4 separate regions of the Homo sapiens genome follow, and regions 1, 2 and 3 are each linked to region 4. Evidence: promoter capture Hi-C in 16 types of primary human blood cells and fetal thymus (Javierre and others, 2016). All regions are on one chromosome and are shown on one strand. Each heading gives the region's core, a stretch centred on a gene start or on the middle of the fragment in contact. The rest is flanking DNA. Distances are from core to core; before and after follow the strand shown.

Region 1 (5,013 bases), core at 596-3,095, 220 kb before region 4:
GCCAGTAGAAAACGTCTCCAAGCTGACTTCTATGCCATTCTGACACATCCCTTTCATTTTTTGAGCATTTCCTACTTTATAGACCAAGACATTCCAGGCTTATCTTGTACTTGGCCCGTCTTTTCTCTAGAATCAGCCATTTCTCCAAAATGCCACAGTTCCTTTCACTATAGAATGGTGTTTAGAAATCAAGATCTGCATGCAAAATGTGCTCATTGCCGGGCTGCCAGTGTTTCTAGGCCCTTCCATTGGGAAATGCCACTTCTGACTCTTATTCCAAAAGTTCTTAATGATACCCATGGATCCTTCCTTGCCTTTTCCCATCCTGTAGTTCTCTCTCTTCAACACTGAGAATGCTGGCTTCTAATACCATCAATATGGTTGCTCATTTTTCTCAATTCTACAACATAGCCAAGAGTTTCAGAATCACTACACTGTACGGCAAAACATAAACCTGCTGAGATTTCAAGGTTTGCTTACAGTTTTTTTTTTCCCATCAAACTGAAGATATATAGTAAACTACTGTGTTCAGAAGTTGCTTAGATTAGTTGTTTTCCATCACTGTGGTTATGTTATTCACCTGAAATACAGTAAGTTTTATTTGTTTCTGGCTGTATTCAATTTAGAGTATTTCTCCCTATCTTTAATTATTTCATTTTATTTTCATAAGCATATGAATCATTAACCGCAATTCCAAAATTCAAAACTACAAACAAGATATATTCCCCATCCCTTTCACCCCATTCCCATCCACCTTTACACGAAAATCATTTCATTCATTTTGGGTTATCCTCCCTGTGTTGCTTTTTGCAAATATAGCAGGTATTTCAAACTCCAAAGCAAAGCACCATAGGGAGAAGTGGGATGGGTGTGAGTGGTGGCTGCCTTATGAATGGTGGCAGGGGCTCAAAAGTGAAAGGAGAGGAAGTGTGGCAGAAGAGAGGTGTTCTCAGGTAGACCAGTTTTAAGAAATAATACATATGTGTGTAGGGTTCCCCTAAAGCTCTCCATGCCTGTGAGGCCCAAGAAAACATGTTTCCCCAGAAGTTGGTGGGTGCTCAGCCTAAGGACCCACAAATTAGCAAGAGAGTTGTCAGCGACCAGGGCCCACGATACAGAGGCTTTCTTCCCCTCTATTTGAGACTGTCCTGGCCATAGGGAATTGATTCCACACATTTGGCCTCCCAAGTGCCACACAGGGGCAGAGCAATGCCTCCATGCCTAAGCTTCTCAACCTTTAACGTGCACAGCAGTCCCGAGGAATCCTGTTAAAATGCAGGCTGGAATTCAGCAGGTTTGGAGCGCCCCTGACAGTCTGCGGTGCTAACAAGCTCCCAGGTGGCACTGATAACACTCATCCAAGAACCACAGTTCACATAGCAAAGTAGAGCCCTGGGTCTCAGGTTTGGCTGCACATTGGAAACATCTGGAAGCTTAAAAAAATACACTGGTCTCCACAGCCCGTGATTCTGACAGAGGTGGTGTAGGGTGCAGCTTGAATATCAGAACGTTGTCGTGATTCCCCCGGTGAGACCAAGGGGCAGCCAGGTGAAGAACCCTGCTCTGGAAACCAAATTTGGGAATTATTTTATTATGTGTAACTTTCCATCAAATGTTGACCTTTGGTGAAGGGAGATAACGTGTCAACAATTTCTGCTGAACTGCATTGCTCCCTGAAATTCCTCCTTCCACCCAAATGAGGCTGTAATAGGAGCTTCAGGATGGAGAACATCAATTCTAATAAAGGAACATGTTTGGCCTCAAATTGACACATTTTGCAGCATATTGCTATTAGGATGTGTTTACTGACTCATTTGCCATAGATAACACTTCTTTTACAATGATGAAAAATCTTAAGCGTCTGCCTTTTTGTCTAACAATGAGTAAATTAAACATTTTCATAAGGAGGAAGGGCAAGTGTTCAGTGACGATTCTGACATGGTTTATGGAAATAATTCTTGGCTCATCTTCCTAAAGGTGCTCTACCAGGTGTCCCGTGTGCCTGGATAACCTACCTGCATTGAGATTGTGCACACACACACACACACACACACACACCGCGGCACAGAAACATACATAAGACACACACATACACACAACACACAAAAGCAATTGTGTTCTAGCCTGGTGGAACAACCCATGTCCACCAGCCTGGTGGCCTCCCGCAAACCACATTTACGGCAATGATTTGTTGAAATGGCGCCACCAGTATCTTGAATTCCCTTGCCCTTAAAGAAAAATGTCCCAGTAAGCTTTTGATCCACCGTGGAGGATCTGTAATTTGGAACCATTAAATGTATCTGTCTTTTTCTCCAAACTATTTCATGTTCTTCATCATGAGACTAACAACATGACTGAGCCGTCATGGTTCTAACTCCAGTCATAGATATTTCTGGAAAAATGCTTACAACTTGAAATGGAAGGTAACCTTGAGCACAGTTATCGTACTGTGCTCGGTGCTGGAACGTGGTGTTGCCGGGGCTATTTGTGCTTGGACCTTAGATGAAAATTCCTGTTTAAATAAATATTCTTAACTTTTTTACATTATTTCAGTCCTTGACTCTTCATCAAAAGCAAACAAGACTCTTAACCAAAAGTGGAGCAAAACTGTGCATTTGTTAAATAGCAATATCTTTGCATCTGTTATTTCTCATTTTGGCCAAAAGACCCAATTTATGCTACATCCATTCTCCAGACATGTAGAATTACCTTGCTTGTACATAACATTACCATGTGGGATGTTTTTTAATGCTTTTGAAGTCTGTGCCAATAAAATGCCCTCAGCTTACAAGCAGGTGTGGGCACAGGGCAGAGACAGCCTGTGCTCAGCCTCCTGTCTGGAGCCTCAGTTTGCTGTGCCCGTTGGGGCCAGAGAGGAGAGAGGGCTGCCTGGCCTGGTGAGCCATGGTCTCCTTTCCTGGCAAGGTTCTGCTCACTGCCCTCAGCCCAAGCTGGACCACGCAGTTCCTCGCATTCTCCTGAAGGACTCTGCTTGCAATGCAACTTAGAGTGCTGAATTAGCTTCCTGGGGCTGCTGTAACAACGAACTGGGGGGCCTTAAAACAACAGGGATTATCATCCCCCGGTTCTGGAGGCTGGAAAGTCTGAAGTCAGGATGTCAGCAGGGCCGCCTCCCTGAGACTTGGAGAGTCCTCCACAGCCCCTCCCCAGCTCCCGGGGCTGCCGTGAGGCTCAGGGTTCCTTGGCTTTAGATGTGCCGTGTCTATCTCTGCCTCCATCTCAGGCCTTGTCCCGTGGGAGTCTTCACACAGGGTTCTCGCCTCCCCATAAGGACATCATGCTGGACTAGGGCCCACCCTCATGATCCCCATGACTTCATCATGTTTGCAAGACCCAATTTCCAAATAAGCTCTCATTCACAGGTACCAGGGTTTCGGGCTCCAGAACCCTGGTTTTCACGGGACACAACTCAACCCATAACAAATACCAAGTCTGGGCTTTTCCAAGCTGTGAAAACCCCACTGCCTCGGCTCCAAGTTCATGCAGCATCCTCCGCATGTCAATCAAAGGGGACCCTCTTCATAGCAACCAACAGACCAGCGCCTCTGTGAGGGTCTCTCCAGGGAACACCAGGGTGGTGCCGCCTCTCATGTGCTCTTTCTCCCCTGCCTTCCCACAGCCCTGGGAGGACACTCTTCTTCCCCATGCTCCTCCCCAAGCCCAGCATCATCCTTGATCCTCGTCACCCTTCCTCCCCCCAAGGCACCTTTACCTCCTCCCACAGAGCCCCTTGGGTGATATGAATCTCTCCTCTCCCAGCTCCCAGGCCCCCACCTCTGGCTGCTGTGAGGTGGGGAAGGAGCCTGATCTCCCGCTTGGGCAGTGAGGGAGGGAGGAAGCCGTGATTCCTGGGCACTGATTTTTGTCCCTGCCACCCACGCCACAGAGACAAACCCTGGTTATTTAATGAGGCTGAGGACTCCTCAGTGGGAGGACAGCCCCTCAGGGAGACTGAAGCCCATCACTGCCCACTCGGCCTCCCAGCTCCCTCCCTGGATGGCCCATCCTGCCTGCTGCCTCCCGCCGCCTCGCCTGGGGCCTGCTGGTGTCCACCGTGGTCATCGCCATGGACAGGAGGGGCAGAGGCATGGTGAGCCCCTTGTGGCCTGGTTTCCCTCTTGGTTTTCCTCTGCCCTCATCCCCTGGGTGAGAAGAGCCTCCTGGCTGCCATCCACCCACTCCACATGCACCTCTGGGTGGTTCCCTCGCTGTGTCTGCAGGGACCAGGCACCATGGCCTGGGGGTTCACACAGCAGAAAGCTCCTGCACAGTCTAGAGGTGGGGAGGTGAGATAAGGGTGTGAGGAGGGCTGCGCTCCCTCTGGCTAGGCTTGGGAGGTGAGCTCACCCCAGGGCTGAGAGCTGGGCAGAGGCCTCCATGGGGGGCTGTGGGGGGCAACTGCATGGCAGGGGCAGGGGCTGGGCCACAGGCTGGGGAGAACCTGTGTGGGGCTGCAGTGGGGTAGATGGGGATACACAAGGGGGCCCTGCTTGACCGAGGAGAGCAGGGAGGCTGCCCACAGGGGTGTGCCATGCACAGTATCTCTTGGTGCTTTATTCAGTGCTCGACCCGGCATTAGGTACGTGGAGTGAGGGCCTGGGTTAGGGAGAGGAACAGGAAACACTCTTGTTCCATTACAGCCCCTGCTCAGGACCTGTCCTTGACTGCGGGCAGGGCCTGAGTATTTCCTGCTCGCCCTCATCCCTTCATTTTTTGGTCCCTTGCTCTGGCAGGAGATACTCAATGACTAACCCTAGATTGATGGATTTTGCCGACAGTGAGATGAATTCTCCTTAAGCAATTTGTCCTGTCAATGGATCAGCTTTACTCTGTGAAAACTTGATTTGCTTAACCTTTGTTTGAGAGATAGGAAACTGTCTGGCATCTCAGGGTTTGATGAATGACAGAGCTGCCAGTCACAGAGGAGAGGGAAACCGTTCTGAAGCCTAACCACCTCTGTATCCACCCACTCCCCCGCCAGGTGACAGCCCA
Region 2 (4,920 bases), core at 997-3,496, 240 kb before region 4:
GATCAAAGAAAAGAGGGAAGATTAAAAATTTCAAGACTGTAAAAGGTCATATAGAATCTTCCTCATTAAAATGATAAGAGGATATTATAAGCAACTTTTTAATCAATAAACTTGAAATTTTAGATAAAATAGACAAATTCCTTTAAGAAGTGCAAATTTTCAAAATATACACCAGAAAGAAATCTGTATAGTCCTAATTCTAAATTTATTGTCTGAAGGTACAATTTAAAATCTTCCCACAAAGAACTCTTTAATCCCAAATGAATTCGCCAGTAAATTCTTATAAACGTCTAACAATGAAATGGCAAACACAAATTCTTACAGAGAATAAGTAAAGAAGGAGCACTGCATATTTATTTTATGACACGAAAACAGCACTGATGCCAAAACCTGACATTTCAGGAGAGGAAAACTGCAAGCCAACTGTGTTAGGCCGGTTTTGCATCACTATAAAGAAATACCTAAGACTGGGTAATTTGTAGAGAAAAGAGGTTTCACTGGCTCCTGGTTCTGCGGGCTGTAAGGAAGCTTGGCTCCAGCGTCTGCTCGGCTTCTGGGAGGCCTCAGGGAGCTTTCGCTCATGGCGGAAGGTGAAGCGGGAGCAGGCACGTCACCCACTGAGAGCAGGAGCGAGAAAGAGAGGGAGACGGAAGGTGCCACACACTTTTAAACAACCAGATCTCGGGCGAACTGATTCACTATCTTAAGGATGCACCAAGAGGATGATGCTAAACTACTCATGAGAAATCCACCCTGTGATCCCATCGCCTCCCACCGAGCCCCACCCCTAATACTGGGATTACATCTCAACATGAGATTTGGCAGGACGAATATCCAAACCACATCACTAACCACTCACGAGCCTAGATGGAAACCGTGAGCACGTCAGGTTTATTCCAGGAATACAAGATGGGTTAACGTTTGGAAATTAACCAGTATAATTCATCACGTTAACAAGAAAGAAAAAAGAAAAATCATCTGATTATCTTAATCTGTGCAGAAAAGTGTTCAATAAATACACATTTGTAATATAAGAAAATGGAACTTTCTTATCCAAATTAAGGGAAACAACAAAAACCTTACAGCAGGCATCACACTGAATATAGCAAAATGTTGATAGTGTTCTGAGATTAGGAACAAACAAGAATGCTCACCTACCCACATATGTTCACCTTTTACTGGAGGTTTTTCCTGGTGCAATAAGGTGAGGAAATAAAAATGATTGGGTAGGAAAAAAAATTCTATTAGTGGATGATATGATTTTGTATGTAGAAAGCTTAAAAGACTTCAAATATAATTAGAATTAATAAGTGAGTTTAAATCATTTATGGGTGCAGGGTCAACATTTTTTTTTTGCGATAGGGCCTCACTCTGTCACCCAGGCTGGAGTGCAATGGTGTGACCAGAGCTCACTGCAGCCTTGACCTCCGGGGCTCAAGCAATTCTCCTACCTCAGCCTCTGGAGTAGCTGGGACTACAGATGCACACCACAACGCCCAGCTATAGGGTCAACTTTTTTTTTTTTTAGTTGTATTTCTATACACCAGTAACAAACAGAAACCTCAGTTTAATCAGGAACGCCAGTTTTAAAAACATCGACTATCAAATATATTTAACATAAGGTATGCAATAGTTCTGTGCAGAAACAGCATTATTGTGAGAAATAAATACTAAATAAATGGAGGAGATACTGAATTGAAAAGATGATGTCATAAAGAAGTTAGTTCTCCCTGAATGATGCTCAGGTAGCTGAAATTGCAATGGAAATAAATATCAATGGATTTTTACAGGCAGTTGTGTGGGGAATGATCTCCATGCAAGCATGCTCTCAAGGTCACTCTCAGATAGGTGATCCCAGAGGCCACAAAACACACAGCCTCAGAGCAAATGAAGACAAATGAACCCTTCACTTTATTACTCCCATTTAAAGCATGTAGTGAGAAGAAGGGGATGCTCTGGGCTCAGCACAAGCAGCATGCGGGCAGGGGATACAGAGGCCCCACCTGGAGTCTCTGCTGCCTCAACCAGACAGTCCCCTGACTGCCTGGGTGTGAGTCCAGGGCTTGAGGTTGGTCCTGGGTTGATGAAAACACTTGCTCTTGGACAGCACAGATCCAACCTAGAGTAACTTATGGAACAAGTGACCTAGTTCCTTCAGCAAATAAATTGCTGAGGAAAATGAGTAAAATATAGGGGTGAACTGATATTAAAAGAGCCTTAGGAGATGTGTCAGCCAACGGCAATGCAGGGAGCTTTTCTGGACCTCACTTCAAACAAACTAAAATCAAAGCATTTGTGAGACAAGTGGGGAAATTTGAACCCTAGATACTTAATGATATTAATAAATTATTGTTAATATTGATCTGTATTTTAGGAGTCCTTATCTTTCCATGATATGTACTGAAATACTTATAAATGGTGTTTGAAATTTTTGTAAAATTTTTTAACTTGAATTTTTAAAAAATAAGAGCTTTTGATCATCAAAATGCAATATTAAGAGAATAGAAGGGCAAGCCAGGAAATGGAAGAAACATATGTAACTGACAAGAAGATTGCATCAGGAGTTTATATTACAATCTCATATGTCAATTAGAAAAAGACAAACAATCCATAATAAAATATGTAAGAGGCTTGAACAGGCACTTCACAAAAAATGAACAAATAAATAGAAGTATCCAGTTGGCCAATAATCATATTGATGGATGATCCATTTCATCATTAAGTAGTGAGAGAAATGCAGATTAAACCACACCAAGGTATCACTTTACACCCACCAGAGCAGCTAAAATTAAAAACACTGACATTATCAAATGCTGATAAGGATATAGCAATGGGAACTCTAATACACCCTTGGTCAGAGTGTAAATTGTAAAGCCATTTTGGGAAACAGTTGAACATTATTTCCTGACATTTAACATACACTTCCCTGTGACCTAGCAATTCTCCTCCTAAACATTTATTTAACAGAGAAATATGCAGATCTGCAACAGCAGACATGTCCAAGAACGTTCATAGTTCCATTAGTCCCAACACCCTAAAACTGGAAACAGCCCCAATGTCCGTCAAAAGTAAAATGAATAGAGAAATTGTAGCATGTGCATACAATGGAATACGGAACTATAATGGAGTTATCTTTTAAGAAAAATGGAAGAAGTCCAACTATACCCAGTAATAAATATAGTCTTATAAGCATAAGGTTAAGCAAAAGAAGCTTAACACAAAATAATTTATGCAGTTCCATTTTCATAAAGACAAGTACAGGAAAGGTTAGGATATGCTGTAGTGTTCCCCCAACATAGGCTAAATGTCATCTGCCTTTTCAATGGTTTCTTAGGTTTCACAGGCTCCATTTCTTCACCATCTGATCTCTTCCCCCTGCACAAGCACCCCATGTGTCTGACCTCCTCACAGAAAACACCATTTCCTGAGTGTGGTCTGACCAGAGAAAAGCATGTGGTGACAGAAAAAAGCAGGTTTTCACACTGCTGATAACAACCTACCTAAGACTGGGCAATTTACAAAAGGAAGAGTTTTAATTGGACTTACCGTTCCATATGGCTGGGGAAGCCTTACAATCACGGTGGAAGGCAAGGAGGAGCAAGTCACATCTTACATGGATGGCAGCAGGCAAAGAGCCAGAACTTGTGCAAGGAAACTCCGCCTTATAAAGCCATCATATCTCATGAGACTCATTCACTATCATGAGAACAGCACAGGAAAGACCTGCCCCCATGATTCAATTACTTCCCATCAGGTCCCTCCCACAACATGTGGGAATTCAAGATGAGATTTGGGTGGGGACACAGCCAAACCATATCATGGTGGCTTTAAAAGGTGGAGTTTAATTCTCCTCCTCTTGGATGGTGGTTGGACTTCATGACTCATGTCTAATGAATAGATAGTGACAGAAGAGAAACTGTGTGGCTTCCACTAGGAAGGCTAGGTTATTCAAAATTTTTTTAAAAAATAAAGCTTCCACCTAGTTTTCTCTCTTTCTTGCCTTGCATACTCTGGAGAACCCAGCCACCATGTTGTAAGGGCACTCAAGCAGCCCTGGGAGAGGTCTACATGGAAAGCAATGGAAGCTTCCCACCAGAAGCCAATACCAACCCATCAGCCATGGAATATCCTCCAGCCCCCATCAAGCCCTCAAATGACTGCTCCTGGCTCTCATCTTGACTGCAATCTCACAAGACCCCCAAGCCAGAACAACTTAGGCAAGCTGCTACCAAATTCCCAAGTCACAGGAATCAGGAGAGCAAGTGTGCGCTTGTGGTTTGCATCTGCTGAGTTTTAGGGTAATTTGTTATCCAGCAGACTAATGCAGGTTTGGTCTGACCCAAGAGGGCAGAATGGCACCACACTGTACGGTGCTCTAAACGCTGAACGTTGAATGGCTGTTTTGGAGTCTATTTTACTGCCTCTCTTGTCTCCAGTCAAGGTCCCTGTCACCCAAAAGCCAATGTCAACATAAACATATCTTGTATTATGAAGATGAGCTTGATGGACCCACCACAGTACTTTAAAATCATCCCCTTCAAATTGCGTGTGGTCCACTTTAGTCCATTATTCTTCTGTCAGCGCAACTTCTGACCAGGACCTAGTTATTGGCAGCCCTCACCAGGAAGTAGTGCTGCAGAGTGTAGACAGGCACCGTCCTACTCCAGAAGGCGGGCTGTGCAGGCATTCTGTCCATCATCTTTCCTTGAGCACTGCTGCACGAGATCGGTAGGCTCAAAGTCAACTTTATTCTTGTTGTCATTTCTAAAGTGCATTCATCACAACGGGCAATCTATTCCCTGTGAAGCCTCCCAAAATTCACACTTCACCATCCATTCCACAGCCAAGTGCAACGACTCTTGGAACAAAGAGGGCAGGGAGAGCCAGGGAGGCCCAGTGCCTTTCATCCCATCTCTCCCC
Region 3 (5,330 bases), core at 2,519-5,018, 190 kb before region 4:
TACGTGTATACACATATACAATATATTATATGAGTGACAGTATCCTAAACATACCTCACATTGTTTTTGTTTGTTGTTCTTTTTTTTTTCTTTTTACTTCTTCACATTAGTTTTTTTAACTTTCTATATTGGAAATTGTTTCATTTCAGCACATATAGCGCATCCTCACTCTTTGAAATGGCTTCATAGCATTTTATTGTATGGCAGTACAAATATTTGTTGAACCATCCCCACTAACAGACATTAAATTATTTCCGTTATCTTGCTTTGACAAATACCACCGTGCTCAGTGCACTTGTGCAGGAGTCGTTCTGCACCCTTGGGGTAGATCCATAGGCTAAACACCTAGAGTTGCTGGGTTGAAGACGTCATGCGTATTAAATTTTGTTAGCTGTCGTCAAAGAACCTTCCATGGAAATTTTACCTGTTTACAGTTCCAGCAGCAAAGATAAACTGCGCATTTCCCCCCACCCCCCCGCCCCAACCATCTTTACAAATACAGTGTGGGAACAAACTTTATTTGTACTATTCCTTGCCAATCTGATAAGCAAACAAAATTGTATTTCAGTGTTGTTTTAGTTTGCGTTCTTATTGTAAGGAGTTTGAGCACCAAGGAACTGGTTATGTATGTGTGTACAGTTTTCAGGTACTTTTTAAATTAAGTTACTGTCCTTTTTAAATATTGATTTTTAGGAATCAATATTTAAAACACACAACACAATTAACTGTTTTGGCCGTTTTCCTTTGATGTGAAGTACATGAATTTTTCCTAATTTATTATCATTTAATTTTGTTTCTGGTGATGTTTGCCATTCAGGAATATCTTAGTTTGAGGGGTGGGGAGTTGATCAAATTTCTCAATCTTTTCTTTTCTGGCTTAAAGATTTTGTGTCAGAATTAAAAAGGTCCTTTCTGAATCAGAGATTATTTAATAATTCTCCCAGTTTTTTCTGTTACTTTTAAGGTTTCATTTTTTTCATGTGTAAATTTTCCATCCATACGAAATTTACTTTGTAAATGTGAGTGGTTGGAATCCAGCTTTCTCTTTCAGATGATAATACACTTCTCCCACTGATTTCAAATGCCACTTTATTACGTAATAATATGGCATCTATTTTCTGGACTTCCTAGGTAGTTCCATCCCTCTATTCATGAACTAATGCCACATTATAATATGTTTTAATACATGGGAAACTTTATTGTTTTATTTTTCAGTATTTTCCTGGGTTTTCTTGATTGCTTAATATCTATACTACTATTTTAAATAATTTTCTATTTTCAAAAATTATATACTCACATAGTTCAAAATAAAAATAAATCAAAATGAGAGCCAATGAAATAAATCTCCCAGTCATTCCCCCAGTCATCCTATTTCCTTCCCAGGGAGCAGCCAATGGACTCCATTTCTCCTGCATCTTTCCAGAGACAGTTCATGTAAATCTCATATGTATGTGTCTTATAAAGTTTATAATTGGTTTTTCTCATTTTAAAAAATCCTCAACACTTCTCGTATTTTAAATGGGATCAAGCTTAACTTATAAATAAACTACAGAGAAGTGATTTCTGTATGATGAGGTAGATTCCTACCCGTGAACATACTATGGTTTTCCACTTGTTTTATCCTCTTCTTTATCTTGAAGTACTTTGAAGTAGTAGTAATATCCTGCAGTATTCCGAGTAGTTGTTGTTATTATAAAAGTTGTCCTTTATTCCATCAGATCTTCTGTTTGTAGTTGGCATAAATGGTTGTTAATTTTTGCCTATTAATTACACATATAATACATGAGATCCTACCCACCTTATTAAATTCTCTCAATTGCATGAAATTCTAATTAAAACAAGCTGCCGTTCTAGGACTCTGATGCCTTCTGTGTAGGGTGGCAGGAACGAATAAACAAGGAATGATTACATCTTGGAAAATACAGCACTTTACTGGCAGTCATATTCTGAGAACAACATACCACACAAACCAGGAGACCCCCAGGGACCCCCTGAGATCAAGCCCTCTCTGGCACACATAGCCCACTGCCCACTGTATCATAAGATTTGGTTTTTGCAGTTTGACCATGGTGTGTTTAGATTTCTTCTTATTGAGGCTGCTTAGGTTTTGTGGAGTTTCTTCAGACCTGCAGTGATTATATATAGCAAGGTTTGAGAAGAAACAGAAATGGATACTCTGAGTCATTTTGGAAAAGCTTACCAGGATCCTCAAGTTCTTTCCCTAGAAAGGTCTTGAAAAATCAATATAAATTCTTGACCACGTTTTTGGGTTACTTCCAACTGGAAAATCAGGTACTTTTTCTGGGCTCTACCAATGCTTCGCTTATTTTATGGCAATTTTTTTTTTTTTGTCTCTCCATCTGAACCTGTGCCAAGCCACCAGGCACCACTGCTCTCCAATGTCCACTTAACGAATCCCCCGCAGCTTGGACAATATTCCACAACCATTTCTTGGAAAGTGTATCATGACTTCTGCCTAAAAGTAACTTTTTATGTGGTGAAAACTTAAGCATATGGTTTGTCATTGGCACAGCTTTCCTTGGTCATGGTCTAATGCAGACCAAACTGGAAATAACCAAAGTTAGTGATTCTATTTGGTCATCCTCAAATGCTCAAGTGAATGAGGTCTTTTAGTGACAAAACTGCCAATGGAGGTAACAGCTACTCGCACATCCTTGACCAACACAGGATCCTCTCTCCCTGGCACCATCATCCTCATTGGCTTGTTCTCAGCTTCAGGAGATACTTTAGTAGCAGAAGAGGAGGGGGACCAGTCAAGCCAGGGGCAGGGCATGGGTTGGCAAATGGAGTTGAACAACTTGGGCTGTCTGTGTATGGACAATGGCCTCTCCCAGCCACATGTTCACAGCCCCCACCTGCCTGGGCCTAGGTCTCAGGTTCCCCTCCAGGTCCTGGTGCAGCCACTGTCCAGCACCATATGGGGCAGCCTCCCCAGATCTGGAGGGGGCTCCACATGCATTTGGGAGCCACACACACTCTGTCCTCTTGGACAGTGTGAGGCTTGTGTGCAAAAGCACCAGGACAGGTATGCCTGTGCTTGTATTAGAGTTTCAAAGCAGTCTCAAACATACACCCTGAGCTGCTCAGAATGGTAGGCATTCATTTATTTATTTTTGTTTATTTTAATCTAGGACAGCTGCAGAAAAAAATATATTCTCAATGCTAAATATACTCTTCCTGTTTAAGTATGGGTTAAGTTACAGAAGCAAACTAAAGTCCTCCTTCATCAGAAAGAAGGGAGAAGAAGAAATGAAAGAATCAAATGGGAATAGGCCTATGTGCTTTAAACACACATGTGATCTCATTTAACTTTCTGGATGGCCAAATGAAAAGGGCATTTTACTCTATTTTACAAATAAAGAAACCAAGATCTAGAGTAGTTTAGTGACTTGCCCAAGAAAGTAGGAGAACCAAGATATGAGCTCAGGTGCATCCAATCACAAAAACTTCCCAAGACTCCATTACAGCTTTTTAATAAGTTCTTTTGCATATGAGCAGAGAGATAAAGAACAAATACTTCCAAAGCAGAGGCAGTCCCAAGGCACCACTGAGAGTTTGGAAAGGGACCTCCAGCCACTTCCCAGGGGAATTTTGGACCCTGGCACCACTTCATAGGGAAGGTCTGAACCCCGGTTGTGCACCTTGGACAGGGGGGCTCTGAGCGCCCTGCTGTTTTGTCTGTCGCTGAACCTGGGTGCAGCTTTACATTCTAGGCTCAAAAACTCACAAGCACTAGGTCAAGCCATTCCGCATGAATGTCCAGCTGGCCTTTAGGAAGCAGGGCTGGTGCAAAGCAATTCTTCCTGTGTGGGGATGCCTGGCACTTTCTAAAACCTCCATCACTCCTAGCCCTGCCCACCAGATACCCTACCTAGATACCAGCAGCACTGCCAATCATCAAGATGGCCAAAGTGTCTCCATAGACACCAAACAGCTCCAAGGAGGCAGAACTACCCCTAGTAAGAGCCACCCAAGTGAAGTATTAGCAACAGAAATGAAAAAGTAGACTGATGGCTGGACCCAGTAGCTCATGCCTATAATCCCAGCACTTTGGGAGGCTGAGGCTGGGGGATCACTTGAGACTAGGAGTTTGAGACCAACCTGGGCAACATACTGAGACCCTGTCTCTACAAAAAAAAAATACAAAAATTAGCTGGGTGTGTTGACAGGCACCTGTGATCCCAGGTACCCAGGAGGCTGAAGCAGGAAGATGCCCTGAGCCCAGGAGGTCAAGGCTCCAATGACCTGTTGATCACACCGCTGCACTCCAGCCTGGGTGACAGAGCAAGACCCTGTTTCCAAAAGATAAAAAGGAAAAAAAAAGTAGACTCAATGTTTTGTAGGGACCTCTTAAGAGTTGTGTGACCTTAAGAAAGTTACATTAGTTTCCCTTCTGAGCCTCAGTTAATTTATCTGTGAAATGGGGGCTAAGAATCACCTCTTCTCCTCCTTCATTAGGTTAGTATAAATACCAAGAGTGACTTTTGAACTTTAAACCCTGCTGCACCCTCCAAATGCCTGCAAGGCCCCTGAGCCCTGACCCACTTTCCCTCTCTGCCCACAAGATCATAGGCATGGCTCCTGTCTCATTTTCTTTGGCACAAAATTCTATTCATTTGATGGTTTAGAAAGCAACCTAATAGGTTAAATAATACTTCAGCATAAATAGATAATAGCCACCATCTCTTCCAAAGCGTAACTGCATTCTAAGAAATGGCTCCCAGAGGCAAATCTACTACACCCAGAAGGAGATTCTCTGAAGTGGCTGTGCAGAAGTAACTGGGTGTCTGCCGCACCTTGGGTCAGGAGATACACCATCCAGTGGGCAGACTTGAGATCGGAGCAGCGAGCTCTAGGCTTGGCCCAGCTCAGCAGCAGTCAGCTTCTCTGTGCCTGGGTCTCCTTTTCCGTAAAATGAGGGTAAGCGCCGTTCCATCTAAGAGTACCTGTGATGAGATGAGCCAGCCATATGAAGGTGCTTTACAAATGTGAAGCAGTAATTAGGATTCATAATGCTCTCCTGCATGAGGAATAAACTACTTCACATGCTAGGAAGAACGGCCTTGCTACTCTAGGGAATGGCTCAGAGGAGGATTGTGTGCTGTTTATTTGTCGATGTAAATTTACAGGTCCAACTTCTATCTGTTGGACACCCAGCATGTGAAGGCACATTGGCAAGTATTCCTTTAAGGGTCACTGCTGATTTTACGATTTCAGGCTGCATGTCAAGTGGAAAGTCCATTTTAGAACACACCGTGAAGCCCTGAGGACAGTCTCCATTCTTAGTCACAACCATGACATGAAAAGAG
Region 4 (5,307 bases), core at 1,684-4,183:
CTATTCCTTTATCTTATACAGAAGGTAGTGTTTTGAAGCCCAAAATGTGCAAACCACCTTCACAGCAACTTGATCAACCCACCAGCGGGAGTCGCCTCCTCCTGCTCCTGTTCCGTTGTGAAATCTTAAGACTTTGTGAGATTCCCAGTTCCCTGGCCATGATGCTACCGTAAGGGCTGGGTCTAAGAACCCTGGAGAACAAGAAGCGCCATCCAGAAACTGAATATTTCAAGATTTACACATGAGAACAACGGCTCTCAAATGGAAGCTAGCTTAAAATTATGTTAAACTCATAATATAATTAATAGTAACTTTTTTGCTACATAATTTTAAAAATTCAAAGTGATACCAAAAGTAACTATTATTACATGTGGGGTTCTGAAACCTTTCGAGCACACAGACAACCTACATGGTAGGGGCTGACCTGGACATAAGAAGGAAGTTCTTATGTCTGGACTGGCAGAGAATCAGCACCCTACTACTGCCTGCCCACGAGGAATGTGGCACCATCCGCAAGCTGCAGCACTGACTGCTTCCATGTGGGACTCAATCACCTCGAACACAGCCTGGCACAGAACAAGACACTTGATACATGTTCGATGAAGTCAAGACATCGTGATTCACTCTCCTCACTAGCACTTTATCTTTCTTTTACAGATAAGGAAACTGGGGCCCAGAGAGAAACCTGTGCAGATGCTGTGGTTAGTAATGGACAAGCCAGGCCACAAGACACTATTTTACCAAAGTGCTGCCATGTTTTTGTTTTTATTTTTGTGGGCACACAGTAGGTGTAAAATGCTGCCATTTTAAGGCAAAATAAGAAGTATAGCATTTTCACTTGAATAGAATTGTATTAACACAAAGTAAAATCCAGGCTGCTCACCAGCATTCACCTAAGATAAACAGCTTCTGTTAGCAAAAGGGCCAAAGCAGGTCAACTAAACTTCCCAGCACTTGGCAGTGAAGCAAGTTCCAGCTGGCTTACTGACGTCACCATTTGAACTTAACATTTCAAATGTTAACACAGAAACATTTACATATAAAGATCAAAGTTCTGAAGGATAAAAAGGCCTTGACAATAGGCGACTTAAGATGTATCCCATTCGGTAACTCTTCAGACAATTCTGAGTCTGGAAGAACAGGTTAAATTTGTTTGGCTTTTGTTTTAAGGAAGCGTGTCTGGGGAAGACTATCACTGCTGCTTTGTGCTAAAAGTGCTTTTAGTACTGGAAAATTCTACTTAAAAAAACAAAAATACTTTAAGTTAATGTGAGTTATAACTAATTTAGAGCATTTAACCACAATCCCTAAGTTAACTGAAATATTTCCTAAAGCCTCAGTAATATACAACTCTACCTGGCTTTTCGTAAAAGTTTAGGCAGTCTGATAATAAATCCTCAACCAAGCGCAATGAAAAATCTTGCTACTAATCACGGTGTGTGAATTTAAGGTAAAGAGCTACAAATAAATCTCTAAATAAAGTGTTAAGAAGCCTCCCTGCTGGTGTGAGTGAGGTGCAGTGTAGAGTACCCTCTCAGCGCCACCCAGTGCATTCTCAGTGTGTGCTGATGAAAACAAAAAGCCAAACTCTCTGACGATGCCCAACATACACACAAGGTAAAATCTATCTAATGACTACAGCAACAAATGGTGCGTTTAACCATTTCGGCCACTCACTGGCTGGAGAATCCTGGCTAAGTCACTTTCTCTGAGCTTCTATTTATCTTCTATACCAAGGTGGATAACAGCAATCTCTCCTTATGAGAAATGAGATATACACGAACTACTTCCTGTATAAAATATGTTAGATACACCAATACCAACAAGGCAAACAGAAAGACAAAAAAACCCTATGAAGAGATGGGGCTCCAAGCACTTGCTCAGCTCCTGTTTAAATTCTTTCTACCTTATCCGTTCTATTTGAAAAGGCATCTCAGCGTGCAAGGACCAGCCAAGGCCAGGGCAGGGCCCTCGGGGACATCTGGCCAGCACTTCAGGTTCTGGGGATGACTCAGGTGAGCCTCCCTCCCCAAGGGACCTCCTACACGCACACACACACCCCGAACCGGGGGCGGGCGAAGGAGGCCTGGCTGGTGGAGTCCTTTTCTGCGGCCCAGGCGTCGCAATATCCAGTCCCTCTCGTCCAAGGACGTGCAGGGTCTGTACTTGCCCAGTCGCACTGGGACTTCAAATTGGGGATGCAGACACGGCCCTGCTCCTGGTGTGCGCGAAGCCCGCTCAGCCGGCCAGCTCGCCTGCACGCCCGCCGCGTCCCTGGGCCCCAGGAGGGCCCCCGTATCCAGCTCCGACCAAACAGCAAGCCCGCAGTTGGCGAGCATCTTTCCCAGACCGGGAGCGGGGACAGAGCAGAGCAGACGGATCCGACCAGCGCACCACGGCGCCCCAGGGCCCTCCTACCGTCCTCGGCCCTCGGCCCCCCGTTCCCCGGCCACCGCGCGGGCTCCGCCGCTCCTGGGACGCGCACTGGCTCCGGCCCGGCGCCACCCTCTGCCCCTCTGTCACCCCGCACGGAGGCTCCCATCACCCAAGCCGCGCCCAGCCGTCGCCGCGCCGTTCCAGGAGGCCTCCGTCCTCTCCCTACTCCGCCCCGCAGGCCACACGGCGCCCCGGCCCCGCGCGCGGGCTGCCCCTCGGCGGCGCTTCCCCCCCGCGAGCCAGCAGAGGCGGTCAGCGGTCGGGTACCTGCGTCCAGTGGCGGCCCGTACAGCGCGAGTGCGGCCGAGAGCAATGCGACAACGACCGCGCCGGCGACGGCAGTTCCGGCCCCCGCGCGTGTGACCATCCCCGGGCCAAATGGAATCGACCTTACCTCGTCTGCAAGCCCGGATTGCCCCACAGCGAGGACCCAGGGCCATCGGGCAGCATTCCGGATTCCCAGCTGCCCCCGCGCCGTCGCCGGAAACACAGCCATTGGAAGCGTTTTCCGGTTTCCCGACCGCCTCCGCGCGGCTGTCGGCAGTGGGATCCCAACTCGCTCAATCACACCCGGTTCTAGATGATTGACAAGCGCGACGCCCAACCCGGCCTGGTCCCAGCTCTGGCCTAAGAGGTTCGGCTGGAAGGCAGGTTGAAGAGTTAACAACGATCTGGTTCAGGGTCTGGTTTGTGTTTATCGGCCCATTTTTAGGCTTGCGGCGTTATAGAAAATGATTTTGCTGGCAGGTGGAGTGCCGAGGCCCACTATGTGCCCCCAGTATAGCAGTCAGGTGCCTTTCTGCTCCAGGCGCAACCTCTGCCCTGAACCCCAAACCAGCTCGCTGCGAGGCCCCTTCGCTTTCCACCGTCTCAGGTCAGGGCAGCTCCATCACTCCAACGCTGAGGCCCAAACCCCTGGAAGGCATTCTGACCTCTCCTGCCCTCCCACCCACGCTCCTCCTGTGGCTGATGGCCTCTTACCTCCACTGCCGCCCTATTTGAAGCCACCGTCATGGTGCTAAAAGAAACTTGTGGGGCCAGGTGCGGTGGCTCGCGCGTGTGATCCCAATGCTTTGGGAGGCCAAGATGGAAGGATCGTTTGAGCCCAGGAGTTTGAGACCAGCCTGGACAACATAAGGAGACCCCCTTCTCTACCAAAATTTTTTTGGAAAATTAGCAGGGGATGGTGTGGCACACCTGTAGTCCAGCTACTTGAGAGGCTGAGGTGAAAGGATGGCTCAACATGTCAGAGGCCTTTTAACCAGAGCGATTCCATCTTGAATAGGGACTGGGTAAAATGAGGGTGAGACCTACTGGGCTGCATTCCCAGGGGGTTAGACATTCTTGGCCACAGGATGAGGTGGTGGGCACAAGATACAGGTCACAAAGACCGCACTGATAAGATGACACAGTAAAGAAACTGGCCCAAAGCCTACCAAAACCAAGATGGCCACAAAAGTGACCTCTGTGTCCTCATTGCTCATTATTTGCTGATTATAACGTATTAGCATGCTAAAGGACACTCCTACCAGCGCCATGAGAGTTTACAAATGCTATGGCAACATCAGGAAATTACTCTATATGGTCTAAAAAGGGGAGGAACCCTCAGTTCCAGCAATTGCCAACCTCTTTCCCAGAAAACTCATGAATAATCCCCTCCTTATTTAGCCTATAATCAAGAGATAACTATAACTATGTGTGGAGTTAGTTCCTGCCGGTGGGTTCATGGTCTCACTGACTTCAAGAATGAAGCTGCGGACCTTCACAGTGTTACAGCTCTTAAAGGTGGCATAGACCCAAAGAGTGAGCAGCAGCAAGATTTATTATGAAGAGGCCGGGCGTGGTGGCTCATGCCTGTAAGCCCAGCACTTTGGGAGGCCGAGGCGGGTGGATCACAAGGTCAGGAGATCGAGACCATCTTGGCTAACACGGTGAAACCCTGTCTCTACTAAAAATACAAAAAATTAGCCGGACATGGTGGCGGGCGCCTGTAATCCCAGCTACCCAGGAGGCTGAGGCAGGAGAATGGCGTGAACCTGGGAGGCAGAGCTTCCAGTGAGCCGAGATCGGGCCACTGCACTCCAGCCTGGGCCACAGAGCGAGACTCCACCTCAAAAAAAAAAAAAAAAAGATTCATTATGAAGAGCAAAAGAACAAAGCTTCCACAGCATGGAAGGGGACCCAAGTGGATTGCTGCTGCTGGCTGGCGGGGGTGGGGGGGTGGGGCAGCTTTTATTCCCTTATTTCTCCCCTCCCATGTTCTGTTTCTGCCCTATCGGAATGCCCTTTTTTCAATCTTTCCTGCAATTGGCTACTTTTAGGATCCTGCTGATTGGTGCGTTTTACAGAGCACTGATTGGTGCATTTTACAATCCTCTTGCTAGCTACAGAGCGCTCATTGGTGCATTTTACAATCCTAGCTACAGAGTGCTGATTGGTGCATTTTACAATCCTCTTGTAAGACAGAAAAGTTCTCCAAGTCCCCACTCGACCCAGGAAGTCCAGCTGGCTTCAAGTCTCATAAGTATATTCAGTCAAGCAGCCAGTGCCACTGCTCTGCCTATGGAGTAGCCATTCTTTTATTCCCTTTCTTAATAAGTTTGCTTTCAATTTATGGACTCGCCCAGAATTCTTTCTTGCACAAGGTCCAAGAACCCTCTTGAGGTCTGGATTGGAACCCCTTTCTGATAACAGAGTGAAACCCTGAACTACACCTACCAGACCAAACCAGTAAGGAGTTTAACTACAGTAACTGAGCTTTACTTCATGGCAGGAAACTCTGTAACCAGTTAAGCAATGAAGTTATAATCAAATTAGCTGTCTCCATCACACACTTCTGTTTCCTATAGGTGCTGTCAGATCAGGTTCCTG

What was found. Contacts are between HindIII fragments. The CHiCAGO score rates a contact against its expected background, and 5 or more counts as called.
Region 1: a fragment that was not itself captured here is called in contact with the fragment with the promoter of NAXD in region 4 in 4 of 17 cell types (endothelial precursors, total CD8 T cells, naive B cells and 1 more); the score reaches 6.6 in endothelial precursors.
Region 2: a contact is called between a fragment that was not itself captured here and the fragment with the promoter of NAXD in region 4, in 2 of 17 cell types (naive B cells and endothelial precursors). The highest score is 6.5, in naive B cells.
Region 3: a fragment that was not itself captured here is called in contact with the fragment with the promoter of NAXD in region 4 in 6 of 17 cell types (naive B cells, total CD8 T cells, endothelial precursors and 3 more); the score reaches 5.8 in naive B cells.

The regions. Positions count from the first base shown.
Region 1 is chr13:110,831,038-110,836,050 of GRCh38, reverse strand. LOC105370363 (a long non-coding RNA gene) reads right to left here. Exons shown (of 2, transcript XR_007063874.1): 2 at 1,576-5,013. Among named protein-coding and RNA genes, the nearest start is that of LINC00567, 20 kb to the right of the region's middle. The HindIII fragment of the contact is 819 bases long and covers 1,436-2,254 here.
Region 2 is chr13:110,856,096-110,861,015 of GRCh38, reverse strand. No RefSeq gene overlaps it. Among named protein-coding and RNA genes, the nearest start is that of PRECSIT, 12 kb to the left of the region's middle. The HindIII fragment of the contact is 1,935 bases long and covers 1,279-3,213 here.
Region 3 is chr13:110,805,268-110,810,597 of GRCh38, reverse strand. LINC00567 (long intergenic non-protein coding RNA 567) reads left to right here. Exons shown (of 1, transcript NR_135280.1): 1 at 1-922. Among named protein-coding and RNA genes, the nearest start is that of LINC00567, 5.2 kb to the left of the region's middle. The HindIII fragment of the contact is 3,142 bases long and covers 2,198-5,330 here.
Region 4 is chr13:110,613,171-110,618,477 of GRCh38, reverse strand. It overlaps NAXD (NAD(P)HX dehydratase), which reads right to left and starts at 2,933. Exons shown (of 10, transcript NM_001242882.2): 1 at 2,831-2,933. The coding sequence starts at 2,876. NAXD-AS1 (NAXD antisense RNA 1) reads left to right here and starts at 2,125. Exons shown (of 1, transcript NR_182301.1): 1 at 2,125-5,307. RefSeq lists enhancers at 1,904-1,953, 1,974-2,023, 2,925-3,852 and silencers at 2,304-2,463, 2,474-2,723. The HindIII fragment of the contact is 4,814 bases long and covers 1-4,597 here.